6 separate regions of the Homo sapiens genome follow, and all the other regions are linked to region 1. The links are contacts of gene promoters, found by promoter capture Hi-C in blood cells and fetal thymus (Javierre and others, 2016). All regions are on one chromosome and are shown on one strand. The core of a region is centred on a gene start or on the middle of the fragment in contact, and the rest is flanking DNA. Distances in the headings are between cores, read along the strand shown.

Evidence for each region. The method cuts DNA at HindIII sites, captures the fragments that hold promoters and counts their contacts. A CHiCAGO score of 5 or more calls a contact.
Region 2: a contact is called between a fragment that was not itself captured here and the fragment with the promoter of CLPB in region 1, in 1 of 17 cell types (fetal thymus). The highest score is 6.2, in fetal thymus.
Region 3: the fragment with the promoter of ANAPC15 here is called in contact with the fragment with the promoter of CLPB in region 1 in 1 of 17 cell types (M0 macrophages); the score reaches 5.1 in M0 macrophages.
Region 4: a contact is called between a fragment that was not itself captured here and the fragment with the promoter of CLPB in region 1, in 3 of 17 cell types (M0 macrophages, M1 macrophages and M2 macrophages). The highest score is 8.0, in M0 macrophages.
Region 5: a fragment that was not itself captured here is called in contact with the fragment with the promoter of CLPB in region 1 in 1 of 17 cell types (M1 macrophages); the score reaches 6.2 in M1 macrophages.
Region 6: a fragment that was not itself captured here is called in contact with the fragment with the promoter of CLPB in region 1 in 2 of 17 cell types (fetal thymus and naive CD8 T cells); the score reaches 6.3 in fetal thymus.

Annotation. Positions count from the first base shown.
Region 1 is chr11:72,433,199-72,435,898 of GRCh38, forward strand. It overlaps CLPB (ClpB family mitochondrial disaggregase), which reads right to left and starts at 1,333. Exons shown (of 16, transcript NM_001258392.3): 1 at 874-1,333. The coding sequence starts at 1,276. RefSeq lists enhancers at 955-1,414, 1,478-2,284. The HindIII fragment of the contact is 13,854 bases long and covers 1-2,700 here.
Region 2 is chr11:72,077,398-72,080,097 of GRCh38, forward strand. The region is part of intron 1 of NUMA1 (nuclear mitotic apparatus protein 1); the gene reads right to left. Among named protein-coding and RNA genes, the nearest start is that of NUMA1, 1.8 kb to the right of the region's middle. RefSeq lists an enhancer at 2,556-2,700. The HindIII fragment of the contact is 196 bases long and covers 1,322-1,517 here.
Region 3 is chr11:72,111,445-72,114,209 of GRCh38, forward strand. ANAPC15 (anaphase promoting complex subunit 15) reads right to left here and starts at 1,251. Exons shown (of 6, transcript NM_014042.3): 1 at 1,206-1,251; 2 at 1-52. RefSeq lists enhancers at 521-1,058, 730-899, 1,059-1,596, 1,070-1,129, 1,230-1,289 and 1 more and a silencer at 1,260-1,477. The HindIII fragment of the contact is 5,139 bases long and covers 1-2,765 here.
Region 4 is chr11:71,991,639-71,994,471 of GRCh38, forward strand. All of the region lies in intron 6 of RNF121 (ring finger protein 121), which reads left to right. Among named protein-coding and RNA genes, the nearest start is that of IL18BP, 5.9 kb to the right of the region's middle. RefSeq lists an enhancer at 99-158. The HindIII fragment of the contact is 1,494 bases long and covers 690-2,183 here.
Region 5 is chr11:72,131,074-72,133,773 of GRCh38, forward strand. It overlaps the pseudogene RPEP6. Among named protein-coding and RNA genes, the nearest start is that of FOLR3, 3.3 kb to the right of the region's middle. The HindIII fragment of the contact is 889 bases long and covers 812-1,700 here.
Region 6 is chr11:71,971,435-71,974,134 of GRCh38, forward strand. The region is part of intron 3 of RNF121 (ring finger protein 121); the gene reads left to right. Among named protein-coding and RNA genes, the nearest start is that of IL18BP, 26 kb to the right of the region's middle. The HindIII fragment of the contact is 4,567 bases long and covers 1-2,700 here.

The DNA.
Region 1 (2,700 bases), core at 83-2,582:
CTGAACTCCAAAAAGAGTCAAAATAACAGTACTGTAAAAATGTTGGGAAACTATCCTTCACTATATAAATAAAGAAATTGGTCAGACGCGGTGGCTCACGCCTGTAATCCCAGTACTTTGGGAGGCCAAGGCGGGTGGATCAGGAGGTCAAGAGATCGAGACCATCCTGACCAACAACTAAAAATACAAAAATTAGCTGGGTGTGGTGGCCCGCACCTGTAGTCCCAGCTACTTGGGAGGCTAAGGCAGGAGAATAGCTTGAACCCGGGAGGCGGAGGTTGCAGTGGGCCGAGATTGCGCCACTGCACTCCAGCTTGGCGACAGAGCAAGACTCCATCTCAGAAATAAATAAATAAATAAATAAATAAATAAATAAATAAATAAATAAATAAATTGAGGTCAAGCTGGCATTAGAACCGAGTCAGGTTGTTCCTGACTCTGGCACCTTTGGTGGCGGGGGGTAGGGGGGAGCGGTTTGGCAACTTCTCTAAACCATCTGGCGGTTGCCCTTAAAACACCCCATAATTTCCGTTTCCTGGAGATCTCAGGAAAGAGGAATTGGACCAGGCAGAATATGAGAAACATAAGGGGACCATGCTATAATATTAGATGTTTAGTCCAATATCCCCATTGTACAGATGGATAAAATGATGCCCAGAGAGGGGAAGCGGATCTATGGTACGAGATTATACAACTCCGAGGTGATGAGGTCTCTAGGGCAACACCCTGCCCCTGTAACCAGATGATGTCTGAGTCCCTCCAAGACTTAGGCTCTAAGGATCTAAACCTATAAGTACCTCCCACCCTCCTAAGATACGAAGTTAGGACAATCTTCCCGCCTCTCCCTTCCTCAAACCCAGATCTCATAATCACCCTTGTTGGACGGACTCTTGCTGTAGCAATGAACCACCAGCGCTGCGGCCAGGGCGCACATGCCCAGTCCGGCCCTGCTGGGGACCCCGTTCCAGCTGTCCTGTCCTGGGAGTGTTTCTTCGGGACCAGGAAGGCGTCCCCAAGTGGCAGCCGCGAGGCATTTGGTATCGAAGCGTCCTCCCTGGCGCCCCCCGGTGGCTGCCCCACGTCCGGAGAACAAGGCCGGCGATGTTCCAGGGCGCCCCCCGGTGGCTACCCTCAGCCACTGCGGCTCCCCGAGACTCCCAGTAGTCACATTCCGGCCGGAAGCACCTCCATGGCCCCGGAGCGTTGGGGACCTGAGCAGCCGGAGGAGTAGCCGTGGCGCCAGTGCTTTTCTCCTCAACACCAGGGACCCCAGCATCTTGACAGCTGCTTCGATAACCCCGTGGTGCCGGCCCCTGTGCTGACCACGTCCAACATGGCTGCCGCGGCGCGTTCGAAGACGCCGCGAACAGGGTGGAGTTGCGCACTACCTCACGGGAGAGGTAGTCCACAGCCCTAAGCCTTTCCCCAGCTGGAGAATAAATAAACTACGTTTCCCAGAAGGCTGTGGGATTGCGTCACAATGACTGCGGGATTATAGAAGCCCGGGGCATATTGGGAAATAGAGTTCGGGTGAAGGGGCGTGGCGATTAGAGTTAAAGATTAGAATCCCAAGACTTCTTTCCTAGTTTAGTTGAAGCACACGACACACTTTTTTTTTTTTTTTTTTTTTGAGACGGAGTCTCGCTCTGTCTCACAGGCCGGAGTGCCGTGGCGCGATCTCGGCTCACTGCAACCTTCGTCTCCTGTGTTCAAGCAATTCTCCTACCTCAGTCTCCCGAGTAGCTGGGATTACAGGCGCCCGCCACCATGCCCAGCTAATTTTTGTATTTTTAGTGGAAACGGGGTTTCACCACGTTGGCCAGGCTGGTCTCTAACTCCTGACCTCAGGCGATCCGCCCGCCTCGGCCTCCCAAAATGCTGGGGTTACAAGCGTGAGCCACCGCGCCCGGCCCACAATTTTTGACTGGTGTAAATTACCCAAGAATCTTCAGCAGAGGCATATTATGAAACTTATGCTTATTTAGTTTAGCCTATCTCTTTTTTCAGCCTGGGCGGCCTTTCAAAAAGATGTTTAGGGTAACTACTGCACCTGAGATAGGAATACATTTTATTTGAAGAGTTGACTTCCGGTCTTTTTTTTTTTTTTTTTTTTGAGACAGAATCTCACTCTGCCGCCCAAACTGGAGTGCAGTGGCGCCATCTCGGCTCACTGCAACCTCCGTCTCCCTGGTCCAAGCGATTCTCCCACCTCAGCCTACCGAGTAGCTGGGATTACAGGCACGCACCACCACGCTTGGCTAATTTTTGTATTTTTAGTAGTAGAGACGGGGTTTCACCATGTTGGCCAGGCTGGTCTCCAACTCCTGACCTCAAGCGACCCACCTGCCTCAGCCTCCCTAAGTACTGGGATTACTGGCGTGAGCCACTGCGCCTGGCCCTGATTGTGTTATTTTTAAAGGGCTTTCAAGTGGGTCATCTCATCTGATCCTCATGGCAGCTGTGTGTGAGAAGCTGGGCAAGAACTGTTATTCCCGTCTACAGTGAAGGGAATTGAGGCTCAAAGGTGAAAAGATTTGCCAGTAAATCACCTGGAGTAAAGTAATGCTCAGGTCTTCTGATTTTGAGCATATAGTTTCCATTAACACCTGCACTCCCATCCCGCCCCCTCTTTTCCAAACTGAACCCATAGGTAGGCAAAGGAGGAAGTTCTTCTTTGTGCCAGTTCTGTTTCTTCCAAGT
Region 2 (2,700 bases), core at 170-2,669, 360 kb before region 1:
AGTTAATTTGCAAGCATAGTTCTCAAGAGTAACAACAAAAAGCCAGAATTTCAATGAAAAAACACTTTCAAAGTGCTAAGAGACAATAATTGGAAGCCTAGTACCCAGCTAAACTACCAATCAAGACTGAAAGTGAGCTGGGCACAGTGGCTCATGCCTATAATCCCAGCACTCTGAGAGGCCGAGGCGGGAGGATCACAAGGTCAGGGGATCGAGACCATCATGGCTAACACAATGAAACCCTGTCTCTACTAAAAATACAAAAAATTAGCCAGGCGTGGTTGCGGGCGCCTGTAGTCCCAGCTACTCGGGAGGCTGAGGCAGGAGAATGGTGTGAACCTGGGAGGCGGAGCTTGCAGTGAGCCGAGACTGTGCCACTGCACTCCAGCCTGGGCAACAGAGTGAGACTCCATCTCAAAAAAAAAAAAAAAACAAAAAACTGAAAGTGAAATAAAGATTTTTTAAATGAAGACAGTGTTTACCACTAACAGATTCCCACTGGACAAACATCTGAAGGATGTATGTATCTATGCAATAAAAAAGGAAGGAATAAAATGCAAGGAAAAATAGTGAAAAAGCAAACAGTAGACATACATGGGTAAAATGAAATAATCACTAACAATACAAAACAATAAACATATTTTAATTGTGTTGGGGTCTCACTCTGTTGCCCAGGCTAGCTAAGAACTCCTGGGCTCAAGCCATTCTCCCGCCTGCTCCTCCTGCCTCAGCCTCCAGAGTAGTTGGGATGACAGGGCAAGCCACCATGCCCAGCTACAAAATAATAATTATCAATTAGAATTGTTCAGCTTAGAGATGGATTGACTTTGGGAATGATCTCATTCTAGAAAGTACTCATTTTGAGTCTGGACAACACCTTTTGGTATGTTTAGTGTACACTGGGTAAGAGGCTAAATTAAATGACCACACCATATATTAGGTTAATGCAAAAGTAACTGTGGTTTTTGCCATTACTTTCAATGGCAATAACTGCAATTACTTTTGCACAAACCTAATATCTTCTGATCATAGTTTTATCAATTAGACACAGCTGTCCAAACAGCCCCTGATCAGCTCTGTTCAGCCACCTGAGCAGGGCTTTGCCCTCATCCTAAAAGTTCTAGAATTCAAGTCTTATTTCAAGGCATTCTTCCCACTTCCATGTTCCACATGTAAAAAAGAATTCTACGTTTCTTAACGAGCTTTCAGGTAAGATCTTTAAGCTTTTGGAATGTACCGCTTTTCGCTGTGAACTAAGAGCTTAGACATTACAATTAGTCATCCCTTGCTAGAACTTAGGCTACGAAAAGAATACTTTGGAAGCTTTCACAAAAAAGTATGTGGTTCTTCCTCTAAAGAAGAAAATACCACACAGAAAGAGGGACTGAGGAAACATAAACCCATCTGTGCTGACAGAAAGCTACCTTACATGATCCTCATGTTCGCCCCAGGTTCCCATATATTCACAGCAGTAAAGATCTCCACAAAGCAGAGAGGCCCAACTCCCTTACCATTAAAGCTTTAACGACCAGACAACCCAGAAGTTTGGAAACATAGAACCAGGCAACAGATACTAGAGAGAGGGAATTATGTATTAAAGCAAGAAAATATCATCACGTTTTCAAGAGGGAGTGCCATTCCAGTAAAGAGGACAGCTTAATACTGAGGTTCAAATGCCACTAAATGAAAACGGGAAAGCGAAATTCCTGTGCCCTTTCAGCCCAAGAAATTATTCCAAAGCATACATTTATTCCCATTACATGTCGCAAATCCTGCCTAGCCATTAGGATACAGTGACGAAAAAGTCTCTCGTTATCTAGAAGGGCAGACAAACACGCAGACTTTTAAAATACCAGATGGCAGGCCGGGCGTGATGGCTCACGCCTGTAATCCCAAGCACTTTGGGAAGCCGAGGCGGGCGGATCACGAGGTCAAGAGTTCAAGACCGGCCTGGCCAAGATGGTGAAACCCTGTGTCTACTAAAAATACAAAAGTTAGCCGGGTGTGGTAGCGGGCGCCTGTAATCCCAGCTACTCGGGAGGCTGAGGCAGGGAACTGTTTGAACCCGGGTGGCAGAGGTTGCAGTGAGCCGAGATCGCGCCACTGCACTCCGGCCTGGGCGATAGGGCGAGACTCCGTCTCAAAAAAAAAAAAAAATGACAAGTGCTAACTCAGAGGTAAGCAAAAGAGAGTACCCAGAGGCGGCAGCATCAACCCAGTGGGCTCCCGCCCACCCACAATCTTCACACAGTCACACCACTTATAGTCATAAATTTGTACTCTCCGAGGTGCGTGTATGAAACATGTTATCTGTGAGAGTCCATGGATGAAAAACAAAAACAAACAAAAATTAAAAAAAAAAAAAAAAAAGACTTAACCTGTTTTGACCAGGACAACCACCCCAGGAAGTAGGTAAGGCAGGTAAGGTCATTGTTTACATATATGAAAAGTGAGGCTCAAAATACACTGACCAGTCCAAGACAACGCGCGCCCCCACAAAGCACCTTCCCCGTCCCCATTTATGCCCAACCCATAAACCCAAAGTAGAGCCAACCTCGCACTGGCTACGTAACCCGGGCCAAGCTAAACATTATAAACCTCAGGCTCCCCATCTTTAAAGTATAACAGGTGGTTAGAAGATTAAAAAGATAAACATTTGGCAGGTCATTGTGGACGGTGTAGCTCAGAAAATGCTGACTA
Region 3 (2,765 bases), core at 1-2,500, 320 kb before region 1:
CTGTTTGACCTTGGCTGAGTCACTTAACCTCTCTGAGCCTCAGTGTCTTCATCTGTAAAATGGGGATAATAACAATTATACCACTGTCAAAGTTATTCTGATAATTAAGTAAATAATGGATCAACAAAGCTGTTTGCAGGCTGTTCAAGGAGGGATGAGAATGGGAGTCAAGTGTAGGGATAGGAATCCAGAATGCAGACTGGCATTATGAAATTATACAAAATTAGAGGTAGCAGGGTTCTACTGAAACTATCCCTACCTCCTCCACACACTAAAACCTGCTTTTTGACCCTTTATGATGGCCCATACCACACCCACCCAGTGTCAGAAATTTAGGACACTAACGACCTCTCATGAATCACAGCCAAATGTCGGGGTGGAGGGATTGTAGCATATGCAAGCAGGGTTCAGTAAGACATTCTAGGAGGCATGAATAAGTGGATAAATAAGTAGATGGAAGATTGAATGGATGAACTAACATTATAAGGGTACAATCAGCTTTGAGCGGCTGAGGGAGCCGACCAGGAGTGCCAGATAATCTGAATTAAACTTAGGACAGGCGAACTGAGGCCCAGCGACAGGCAGAGACTGGCTTTAGGTCATACAGTGTGTCGGGGCTTAGAATTCCTCCGTGAAAGGGATGAGCAGGAGAAAATAATCGATGCCTGGTCCTGCTTTTGTCTTAATTTATCTGACCGACCCAGGGCCAGCCGCTGCCCTTCCCTGTATCTCAGATTCCCAACCCGCGTAATTAGGCACGACGGTAAACACCCTCATGTCCAAGAAGTACTGACAGACCAGCGATCTCGGCTCCGAAAGCCCAACCCACCGTCGCAAAGCCACCGCCCTTTCTTTGCTCATTACGATAATGACCATGCAGTTGACCAACAGAAAGAAAGCAGGGCGGGTCTCAGACAGAAATTTGGCCTTATAGGGTTGCTAAACGCGAAAAAAGCGGGGCCTGGGTAGGACCAATTAACTGAAAGAAATGCTGGGTGACAGGAAGTGACACCAATGAATGACGGACCTTGTGTGACGGGGTGGGGCTTAGTCTCGAGGAAGCGGCCAATGAGCTGGAGCTCTTTAAGGGTTAAGGACTCTCAATATGGAGCTCCTGGGGAGTCGGGTCAAAGGAAATGGGTTTCTCTGGGGGAAAAAGGAATGAAGGGGCAAGGAGACGGTTGCAGCCTTGCGTCTGTACTTACCGCGCCGGGAGGCTGCTGCCGGCGGCGACCCGGAAGCGCTTCACCCAGCCTGAGCGGAAGAACCCACCAGAATCCGGGACTCACCAAACGCATGCGTCCTTCGTCTCCTTTTGTTTTCCCCGCTCCCGCCCACTAAACCGGATGTGACGTTGACCTACCTTAGTCACATTGTTAGGGAAGGAAGTGTGCCGCGCCTACCTATCTGCCCCGCCTTGAGTCTCAGCCAGTCGGCGTCTCCATCCTGGCGCCAGCACTACGGTCTCGTTTAACCACTGCCCCGTTTAACCCCTGCCCTTTTGTTGCCAGTCACCATTTGCTTGTTAACCCCTTCTGAAGAAGAGCTGACAGCAACCTTTTAGTGCGAGGGCCATTCGTCCTGCTGCATCCCAGAAAACTAATCTGTTACTACTTCAGAATTGCTGGTTGATGTTAGGCCCCTCCTATCTGTGCTCTCTCAGCTACAGTTTCCCGTTTGAGCATATTCATTCTTTTTTATTTTTGCTCTGAACAAAAATATTAGAGTTACAATATTACTATATTCCAGGCCTTGCTAGAAACTGGGGATAAATCTAGGAATATGGTCGCTTCCCTGGAAGACCTCACAGTCCAGGGAAGCCAAACCCTGCAGACATGCAGTAGACTTAGTGGTCTCTCTTAAGGTTGCTTGTTGAGTTTTGACATTGGAGATTATGTACAGACTTGAATGACTAGTTAGCCTCAGGCACAGCATTCTGTTGCTGGGGGAATCAGCTGCCCTCCTCAGGCCTGGGCCAAGTACACTTAGAGATCGCCCTCGTCACCTCTCCCATCCTTTGCTGATGCCTCTGTTCTAGTAACCTCTGACTCAGCTTCGCCTTTAGAGATACTCATGCTTTCTGGCAACAGAGGTCCTTCAAACCCAATTCCTATTAAACTCCATCACTTACCAGCCTCTTTCAGGGACAGCAGTTATCCGCATTTCCAGTACTGTCCTGGCCAGATGTGTGAGTTTTGGCAATTCCTTTTCCTCTCTCTGGACTCAGCTTCTTTGTCAACCAGCATCATAATCTCTGCCCAGCCTTCCTTCTATCCTGGGCTGATGTGAAGATTGGATAAGAATTGTTCAAGAGGTCGTGTACTGTGCATATTGAATGTGATTATATTGCCAAATAGCACTGTTTGTTATAGTTTTTCATTAAAGAGTAAACTTTGCCTCTTGGAAATGACTACCTTTTTCATTCATTCAACAAATACCTACTGAGTGCCTTAGTATATGTCCATCACTATTCTTAGTAGTGGGTATACAATAGTAAACAAAACAGACCAAAAAAGTCCCTCTTTTCATGCAGCCTTCATTCTGAGAGAGGTAAACAATAAAGAAGATAGATAAATAAAATATGTAGTTGTAAGATTGCAGTAAATAAGAGAAAAAATAAATCTGAGAAGTGGGAATAAAATATTTGCAGGGGAGGTGTTTTATTTCAGACTGGGGGGCCAAAGTCACTGGGAAGGTGACTTTTGAGTAAAGGTCTGAAGGAGCAGAGAGCCTTCTGATATTTGTGGAAGAGCATTTCAGAGAGA
Region 4 (2,833 bases), core at 187-2,686, 440 kb before region 1:
TAAGTGGATGAAGTGAGAACCAGGCAGAGGAAAGAGCATTCATAAGAGTCCTGTCACGGGAGAAAGTGTGGGTGTTTTTGAGGAACTAAGACCATTGCGGTTGTATGGCCAAGAAGTGCCTGGAGAAGTAGTGACTAGACTAGAAAAAAGCCTGTGGGCCAAATTAAAGATTTTGATTTTTATGCTAAAAATCCTGGGAGGGGCCGGGCACAGTGGCTCACTTTGGGAGGCTGAGGCAGGCAGATTGCTTGAGCCCAGGAGTTCAAGACCAGCCTGAGCACCATAGTGAGACCCCATCTCTACAAAAAAATGAGACAAAAAAAAAAAAAACCTAGCCGGGCGTGGTGGCACATGCCTGTAGTCCCAGCTACTTTGGAGACCAAGGTGGGAAGTCACTTGAGCCTTGCAGTGAGCTTGTTCATGCCACCAAACTCCAGCCTGGGCAACAGAGCAAGACGTTGTCTCTAAATAAGTAAAAATTCACAAAATGTATAATAATCATGCAAAGGCACAACAATAAATGATGGGGCACAAAAGTGCTTAGTCCATATTGGTAATTGTTTTTGAACTGCACAGTGGTAGGAGTTGCTCCTTACAATTTTTACTTTGTGAACTCTTATTCCTTGATTTAACCCACAGCCGCTACAACAACAGCCACTGTCACTTACTGCTTTACCAAAAATTGGGGAAGCTTTCATACTTGCTTTGTTAATCTTTAACTGTATGTGTAAAGCTACACATTTCATTTCAACATTTAATATTAAAAGTGTTTTGAGTCTTTACTTAAGAGACAATTTGGTGTCTCTTAAATAGAGGTTTAGTGATGTCTTTGTGACAGAAATATGACACAGGAACTGAACTCTTGTTTCTATCAATTAGCCTGTGGTAAAATTGGTTTTGTTATATGTCGTTTCATTTAAAGTCACAGTTTCCAAGAAACTGTCAGTGAAGTGAGGACATACTGTATTTGAGAAGTATTTTGGACTTAGATATAGTTTGGTTCTGAAGACTGAAGGGAAAAATACAAAGGAAATATAGGTTTCAAAGCTGAGATTTCTGATTCGGCAACTGCTTGGATGGTAGTACCTTTCACTGAGATAGGAAATGCTGCAAGAGCAGCAGGTGGACATCACGGAGAGATGCTTAAATATGGGTAAATTAACAGCCAATCTGAGAAACGCAAGTAAATATTTCTATTTTTTTTTTCAGAATGGAAATATATCTTTATTGTTTTGCTGTTTATAAAAGTAGTATGTTCTCTTTGTAATTATTTAAACAACACAGAAGTGCTCCCTGTCTCAGTGTCATCCCCCAAGACCCCACCCCAAGAAGGAATATTTCCATCACCTTGGGTAACTTTAATCTAGTACCGTTTAAGGCCAGGGACTTTGTCCCTCAGTATCATGGGAATATTCTAATTTTTTCTCTACTGGATCAAATTGAAAACAGTACATTGGATCACTTTATTGACAGTTTATTAGGTTCCTTTTTGAACAACTGTCTTGTGCTTTACCTTCATTTCCCTCTTACCTATTTGTGTAGACATTGGATCTTCCTTTAACCAGTTTACTCCCCAGAAGAGATTTCTAGACCATGTCACCATTTTGACCATTTTGAAGTATACAATTCATGCATTAATTACATTTGCAGTGTTCTGCAACATTTTCACTGTCTAATTCCAAAATTTTTCTTCATCCCAAACAGAAACTCTGCCCATTAAGCAGTAACTCATTACCCCTTCCCACAGCCCTGGTTTACCTCTAATATACTTTCCATCTCTGTGAACATGCCTATTGTAGATATTTCATGTAAATGGAATCATACAATATTTGTCCCTTTGGCTTTTTTCACTTAGCGTAGTGTTTTCAGAGTTCATCCATGTATAGAATGTATCATTCCTTTATATGGCTGAATAGTATTCCATTGTGTGTGACACCGCATTTGGTTTATTCATTCATCTGTGGATAGGCACTTGAGTTGTTTCCACTTTTTGGCTACTGTGAGTAACGCTGTGAGCACTGGCGTTTAAGTGTGTTTAGTCCCTAGTTTCATATCTTTTGGGTTTATACCGAGAATGGAATTGCTTGGTCATTTGGTAATTTTATGTTTAACTTTTTGAGGACATGCCAAACTCTTTGCTTTCTTAATTATGATAATGCTTAAGTGAATATCTGTATTCATGAAGCTTCTTTGACACTTCCTCTTTTTTTTTTTTTTTTTGAGATGGAGTCTCGGTCTGTTGCCCAGGCTGGAGTGCAGTGGTGCGATCTCGGCTCACTGCAAGCTCTGCCTCCCGGGTTCACGCCATTCTCCTGCCTCAGCCTCCTGAGTAGCTGGGACTACAGGCGCCCCCCACCATGCCTGGCTAATTTTTTGTATTTTTAGTAGAGACGGGGTTTCACTGTGTTAGTTAGGATGCTCTCGATCTCCTGACCTCGTGATCCGCCCTCCTTGGCCTCCCAAAGTGCTGGGGTTACAGGCGTCAGCCACCGCGCCCAGCCTCCTCTTATTTCTTTAAATTCCTTGAAGTGAAATTAATGGGTCAAAAGGTGCAACAATTTGAGATACCATGCTAAATCCTATCTGAAAGGCTTGAACCCCTTTTGCTGCTGCCACAAATGTCTGAGAATGCCCTTGTCACCAAACCAACATGGCACTTAATATTTCACTGTTTTAAATGTTGGAGAATATTGTTGTCCATTTCTGGTGGAACCATAGTCTGGCGACAGAATGGCTTGCCTGACACAGCTTTTGATCACCAGCCCCAAGTCCTTCTCCCTCCCCTTCCCCTTATCCTTTGGTGCTGATCCAGCCCAGTTTATAGGTTCTGTTA
Region 5 (2,700 bases), core at 6-2,505, 300 kb before region 1:
GCCCAAGAGTTGAAGACCAGCCTGGGCAACATGGCGAAACCTCCTCTCTACAAAAATACAAAAATTAGCTGGGCGTGGTGGTGCGTGCCTGTAGTCCCAGATACTCAGGGAGGTTGAGGCTGCAGTGAGCCATGATGGTGCCACTGCACTCCAGCTGGGGTGACAGAGTGAGACCCTGTCTCCTAAAAATAAAAAATAAGGTAAAATAAAGATTGGCCCATCTACCCTCAACAGTTGCCTGGACTCCCTGGGGCTCAGTGCACCTAGATGCTGGACTCGGATAACCATCTGATCTTTGATGTAGTGGACAGACACTTTGTTCTTGCCATCATCTTTGGTACCTGAGATAGAAAGCCTTAAAGAGAGGCCACGCCCATGATTAAGTTTCAGGTCAAAACAACGAGCAAAAAGGCAACGGCTATAGTTGTAGGTGTAGCAAATCAGTGTGCCTTTTATCTAGAGGCTACTGAAAACCAGACATTCATTAAAGATATTCTGGTCACTTGGATGAAGGCTGGCCTTGGCATTCACCTGAATCTTTAGTAGAGTCTTTAGCACCATTGGCAACTCAGCCAGACCTGGCCTTGGCCACGATAGTGGAGCCTGGGATTGGAGGGCATGAATTTTATGAAGCCTGTAATATCAGAAATTCGTTGGTTGAGGACATACCTCTTTCTTTTTGGACCCTGTGGGCGTAATGCTATTGATACATGTGCAGAGGAGGAATTAATATGACTGTGATTGACAGAATAATTATGAAGTGCAAAGACCTCAGATCTGTGATCAGCTTCCATAGAAGTATTTGCTCAGAAGCTTCTCAGAAACATTCTCATGATTGAAGAAGCCTTGAAGAGCCCGTATTTCTGTCTATGAAATCTCCTGTTTATTGTACTATGAGGACCCATCAGAAAGTAACTGAGGTAGTGCTGATTTCCTGAGCAATTATTCAGTCCACTGTCTCAAATCCATCATGCAGAATGTTCACAGAGGGTAAAGTAAGTTTGACTATTATAACTACTCACTTTTATAAGTGATTTAATTTAAAGATTAATATGATAAGTACTCTGTTTTTCCTGGGAATTTTGTTGTAGAAAGAGTAACTGCTGTGTGGCTAAACTAAGGTTATAAGCCAAATTGTTTCCTCAGAGTTTAAGAAACACAATACTAACTCTCATGGGTTTACTAGTTGTCTGTTGCTGCATAACAAATCATTCCATAATTTTGTGGTGTATTGCTGCAGACAATGTTAAACTAAGTGGATGAAAAGGATATTCACATAGTCTCAGAGTGTCTCCCTACAAGGTAGGATTACTAACAAAGGGAAACTAATAATTATATAGTAAGGAAATCTCCTTAACCCAATAATCACCAGCAATAAGATGCAGCAACCCTCATCATGTACCTCTTGATATGATGCACTGACAAAAGCACCTCTCTTCTCTAATTTTCTTGCCAAAATGCATAAGCTCAAGCTAATTACAGGAAAATATAGACAAACCCAAATTGAGGGACATTCTGCAAAATAACTGAACAGTAATTCTCCAAAAGTGTCAAGGTCATAAAAGACAAAGACATTGAGGAACTGTCACAGATTGGAGGGAGACTAAGGGGACATGACAACTACATGCAACCTGGAATCATGGACTGAATCCTGGGCCAGAGAAAGGACATTGGGGGGGAAACTGGTGTAAAGGGCATAAAGCTTGTAGATTAGTTAACAGTATTGCCTCAATATTAATTTCCTGATTTTTTTAAGAACTGGGCTTTGGTTACATAAGATGCCAATATTTGGGGAAGTTGCATAAAAACATACGGGAAATCTTTTGACGATGTTTTGCAGTTTTTCTGCAAATCTAAAATTATTTCAAAACAAAAAGTTTAAAAATCAAATACACATAGTTGCTTGAAATAGTAACTATTTTATTATATTCCAAGATGTTGTGAGTCAGGAATTTGGCCAAAACTCAGGTGGGCGATTCTTCTGCAAAGACCCCCACAACACATTCAAAGTCACAGGCAGAGGTTGTTGGGGGAGGGCATTGAAAAGAAGAGAAGAGTCATAGGTGGGTGCAATGGAGGGAGGGCAGAGGGCTGCTGACTATGGTGCAGGACTCATCCATAATGGAGCCCTGGGGAGGCAAGGGCTTCATAACTAGACACTGGTCTTGTCACCTCAGACTCACCTGTAGCAGGACCAGATACTGAGGTCAGACTGAAAACACAGGCTCTGCCTCAGGAGAGGCTCTCTACTAGCTGAGTAAATGATGACAGTATTGGAAATGTTCCCAACATCATAATGGGAAAACATCACTTCACACTACATAAGCAATACACAGGGGCAGTGCCGGTCGTCTTCCCAGGTTAGTAGCAGTTCTACTGCCTCCAAGAGTGTTGGAGAAATACAAACCAAGCATTAGGCACTTTTAACTTGAAAACATGAAGTTCTCTTTCCTAACTTTCTTTGTTTCCTTATTTCTTCTTCTTCTTCTTCTCCTTCTTCTTCTTCTTCTTCTTCTTCTTCTTCTTCTTCTTCTTCTTCTTCCTCTTCTTCTTCTTCTTCTTCTTTCTTCTTCTTCTCCTTCTCCTTTTCCTTCTTCTTTTTTTGCTGAGACAGGGTCTCACTCTGACAGTACAGTGGTGCCATCACAGCTCACTGCAGCCTCGACCTCCAGGGCTCAAGCAATCCTCCCAGCTCACCCT
Region 6 (2,700 bases), core at 64-2,563, 460 kb before region 1:
AAAGATTCGATAAATTTGATTTTATAAATTAAGGATTTCTGTTCTGTTAAAGATATGATAGGCAGAGTTAACTGAAACTGAATGGAGAATAGATGAGTAATGATTAAAACTGACAGTAGATTAATATTTATCCAGAGAAACTCCTACAAATCAACAAAAGACAGCAACTCCAATAGAAAAACAGGCCAGAGATATGAACACATTTACAGGAAAGGAAACCCAAAAGGCCATTAAGCATGAAAAGAGATGCTCAGAGTCATTAGTAATTAGAGAAATGCACATAAAAATATGAGATATCACTTTACATCTATTAGGTTGGCAAAAGCTAGAAAGCTGAATAGTGCCAAGTGTTGGCAAGGATCAAAGGCTGTAGGAGCTTTCTTGTACTTTTTTGTGGGTATGGTACAGGCATTGTGGATAGCAGCATGGCATTGCTGAGTCAGCGAATATACACATACCCTGTGACACATCCTAAGGGGATATGTAAGAGGGTGTTCACTGAAGTGTTAATTATGGCTGAACATTGAGGAGTTGGAGGCAATCTGGATATCTATCTCTGAGGGAGTAAATAGGTAAAATGTGACGGATGCATATCATGAAATTGTTTTACAGTTAAAAGCAATACATTAAGTACCTGTAGGAACTTGGGAGGACCTTAAAAGCATAGTACTGAGTGGAAAAACTAAGAAACAGAAAGATGTGTAACACAATGCCAATTAATAAAAATACAAGCAGAGAAAGCAATAAACAGTTTGCATGAACAGGTACAAACAAAAATATACATGTGAAGCACATTAGAATGTCTGGGGTGAGGAATAGTAATAAAAGAGAATCAGGAAGACTCCCCGGAGAATGTTGTGTAAAGGAAAGGCACTGGGATTGTTGTTGAGTAGTAGAAACATGAACTGTTTGAGATTAGCCATTAGAGCTTTTAAAAAAATGCCTCTTATGGCATTCCAAGAAATGATGGAATTATTTGATAAGGCTCTGTTTCTTTCAAACTGAATGAAACTTTTTGTCCTTCACTAGTGCAGGTTGGTGGCGCAGCCTTTTAGTGGGCATCCAATGACCACTGAGTGGAAAAACACTAGCTCTGTTCTCCTAGACCAAGGTTTCTCAACAGAGGAACTGTTGGCATTTTGGGCCATATAATTCTTTTTTTCTCGGGGGCTGTCCTGTATATTATAGGATGTTTAATAGCATCCCTACCCTCTGTCCACTAGATGATACTGGCACCCTTCTGCACTTGTAACAACCAGATGTCTCCAGACTGCCAAATGTCCCCTGGGAAACAAAATCATCCCTGATGAGAAACACTGTCCTAGGCTCTAGGACCTAGAGCAACATGGATATTGCAAGCTATGAGACTGATGATGAGCAGTATGCCAGCCCACTGAGAAGTATCACATTACTGTCCATAACTTAGGAGCTCAAGCCCAACCTTCACATTAAGAGAAACATAGGCTGGGCGGCTGGGTGCGGTGGCTCATGCCTATAATCCCAGCACTTTGGGAGGCCGAGGCAGGCGGATCACGTGAGGTCAGGAGTTGGAGACCATCCTGACCAACATGGAGAAACCTTGTCTCTACTAAAAATACACTGTTAGCCGGACATGGTGGTGCATGCCTGTAATCCCAGCTACTCGGAAGGCTGAGGCAGGAGAATCGCTTGAATCCAAGAGGCGGAGGTTGTGGTGAGCCGAGACTGTGCCTTTGCACTCCAGCCTAGGCAACAAGAGTGAAACTCCATCTCAAAAAAAAAAAAGAGGGAAATGTAGGCTGGGCATAGTGGCTCATGCCTGTAATTCCAGCATTTTGGGAGACTGGAGTGGAAGGATAGCTTGAGCCCAGGAGTTTGAGACCAGCCTGGGCAACGTAGTAAGACCCAATCTCTTAAAAAAGAAAAAATTAGCTGGTTGTAGTAGCATAGGCCTGTAGTCCCAGCTACTTAGGAGGTTGAGATGGGAGGATCACTTGAGCCTGGGAGGTTGAGGCTGCAGTGGGCTGTGATTGTGCCACTGCACTCCAGCCTGGGCAACAGAGTGAGACCCTGTCTCAAAAACAAAAAACAGGCCGGGCGCGGTGGCTCATGCCTGTAATCCCAGCACTTTGGGAGGCCGAGGCGGGCAGATCACCTGAGGTTGGGAGTTCAAGACCAGCCTGACCAACATGGTAAAACCCCGTCTCTACTAATAATACAAAAATTAGCCGGATGTGGTGGCAGGTGCCTGTAATCCCAGCTACTGTGGAGGCTGAGGCAGGAGTATTGCCTGAACCCGGGCAGTGGAGGTTGCAGTGAGTCAAGATCCTGCCACTGCACTCTAGCCTGGGTGACAAGAGTGAAACTCTGTCTCAAAAAACAAAAAAACAAACCAAAAAAACCCCAAAAAACAAAAGCCCTACTGACAAGGAAGAGGCCAAAGAAATAAATTTAAAAGAAGAAATATAAAATTTAAAACAGAAAATTTTGAAAAATACAAAAAACAAAAGCCCTGTATTTTTTTGTTTGTTTGTTTGTTTGTTTTTGAGACGGAGTCTTGCTCTTTCACCCAGGCCAGACTGCAGTGGCGCTATCTCGGCTCACTGCAAGCTCCGCCTCCCGGGTTCACGCCATTCTCCTGCCTCAGCCTCCTGAGTAGCTGGGACTACAGGTGCCTGCCATCGTGTCTGGCTAATTTTTTGTATTTTTAGTAGAGACGGG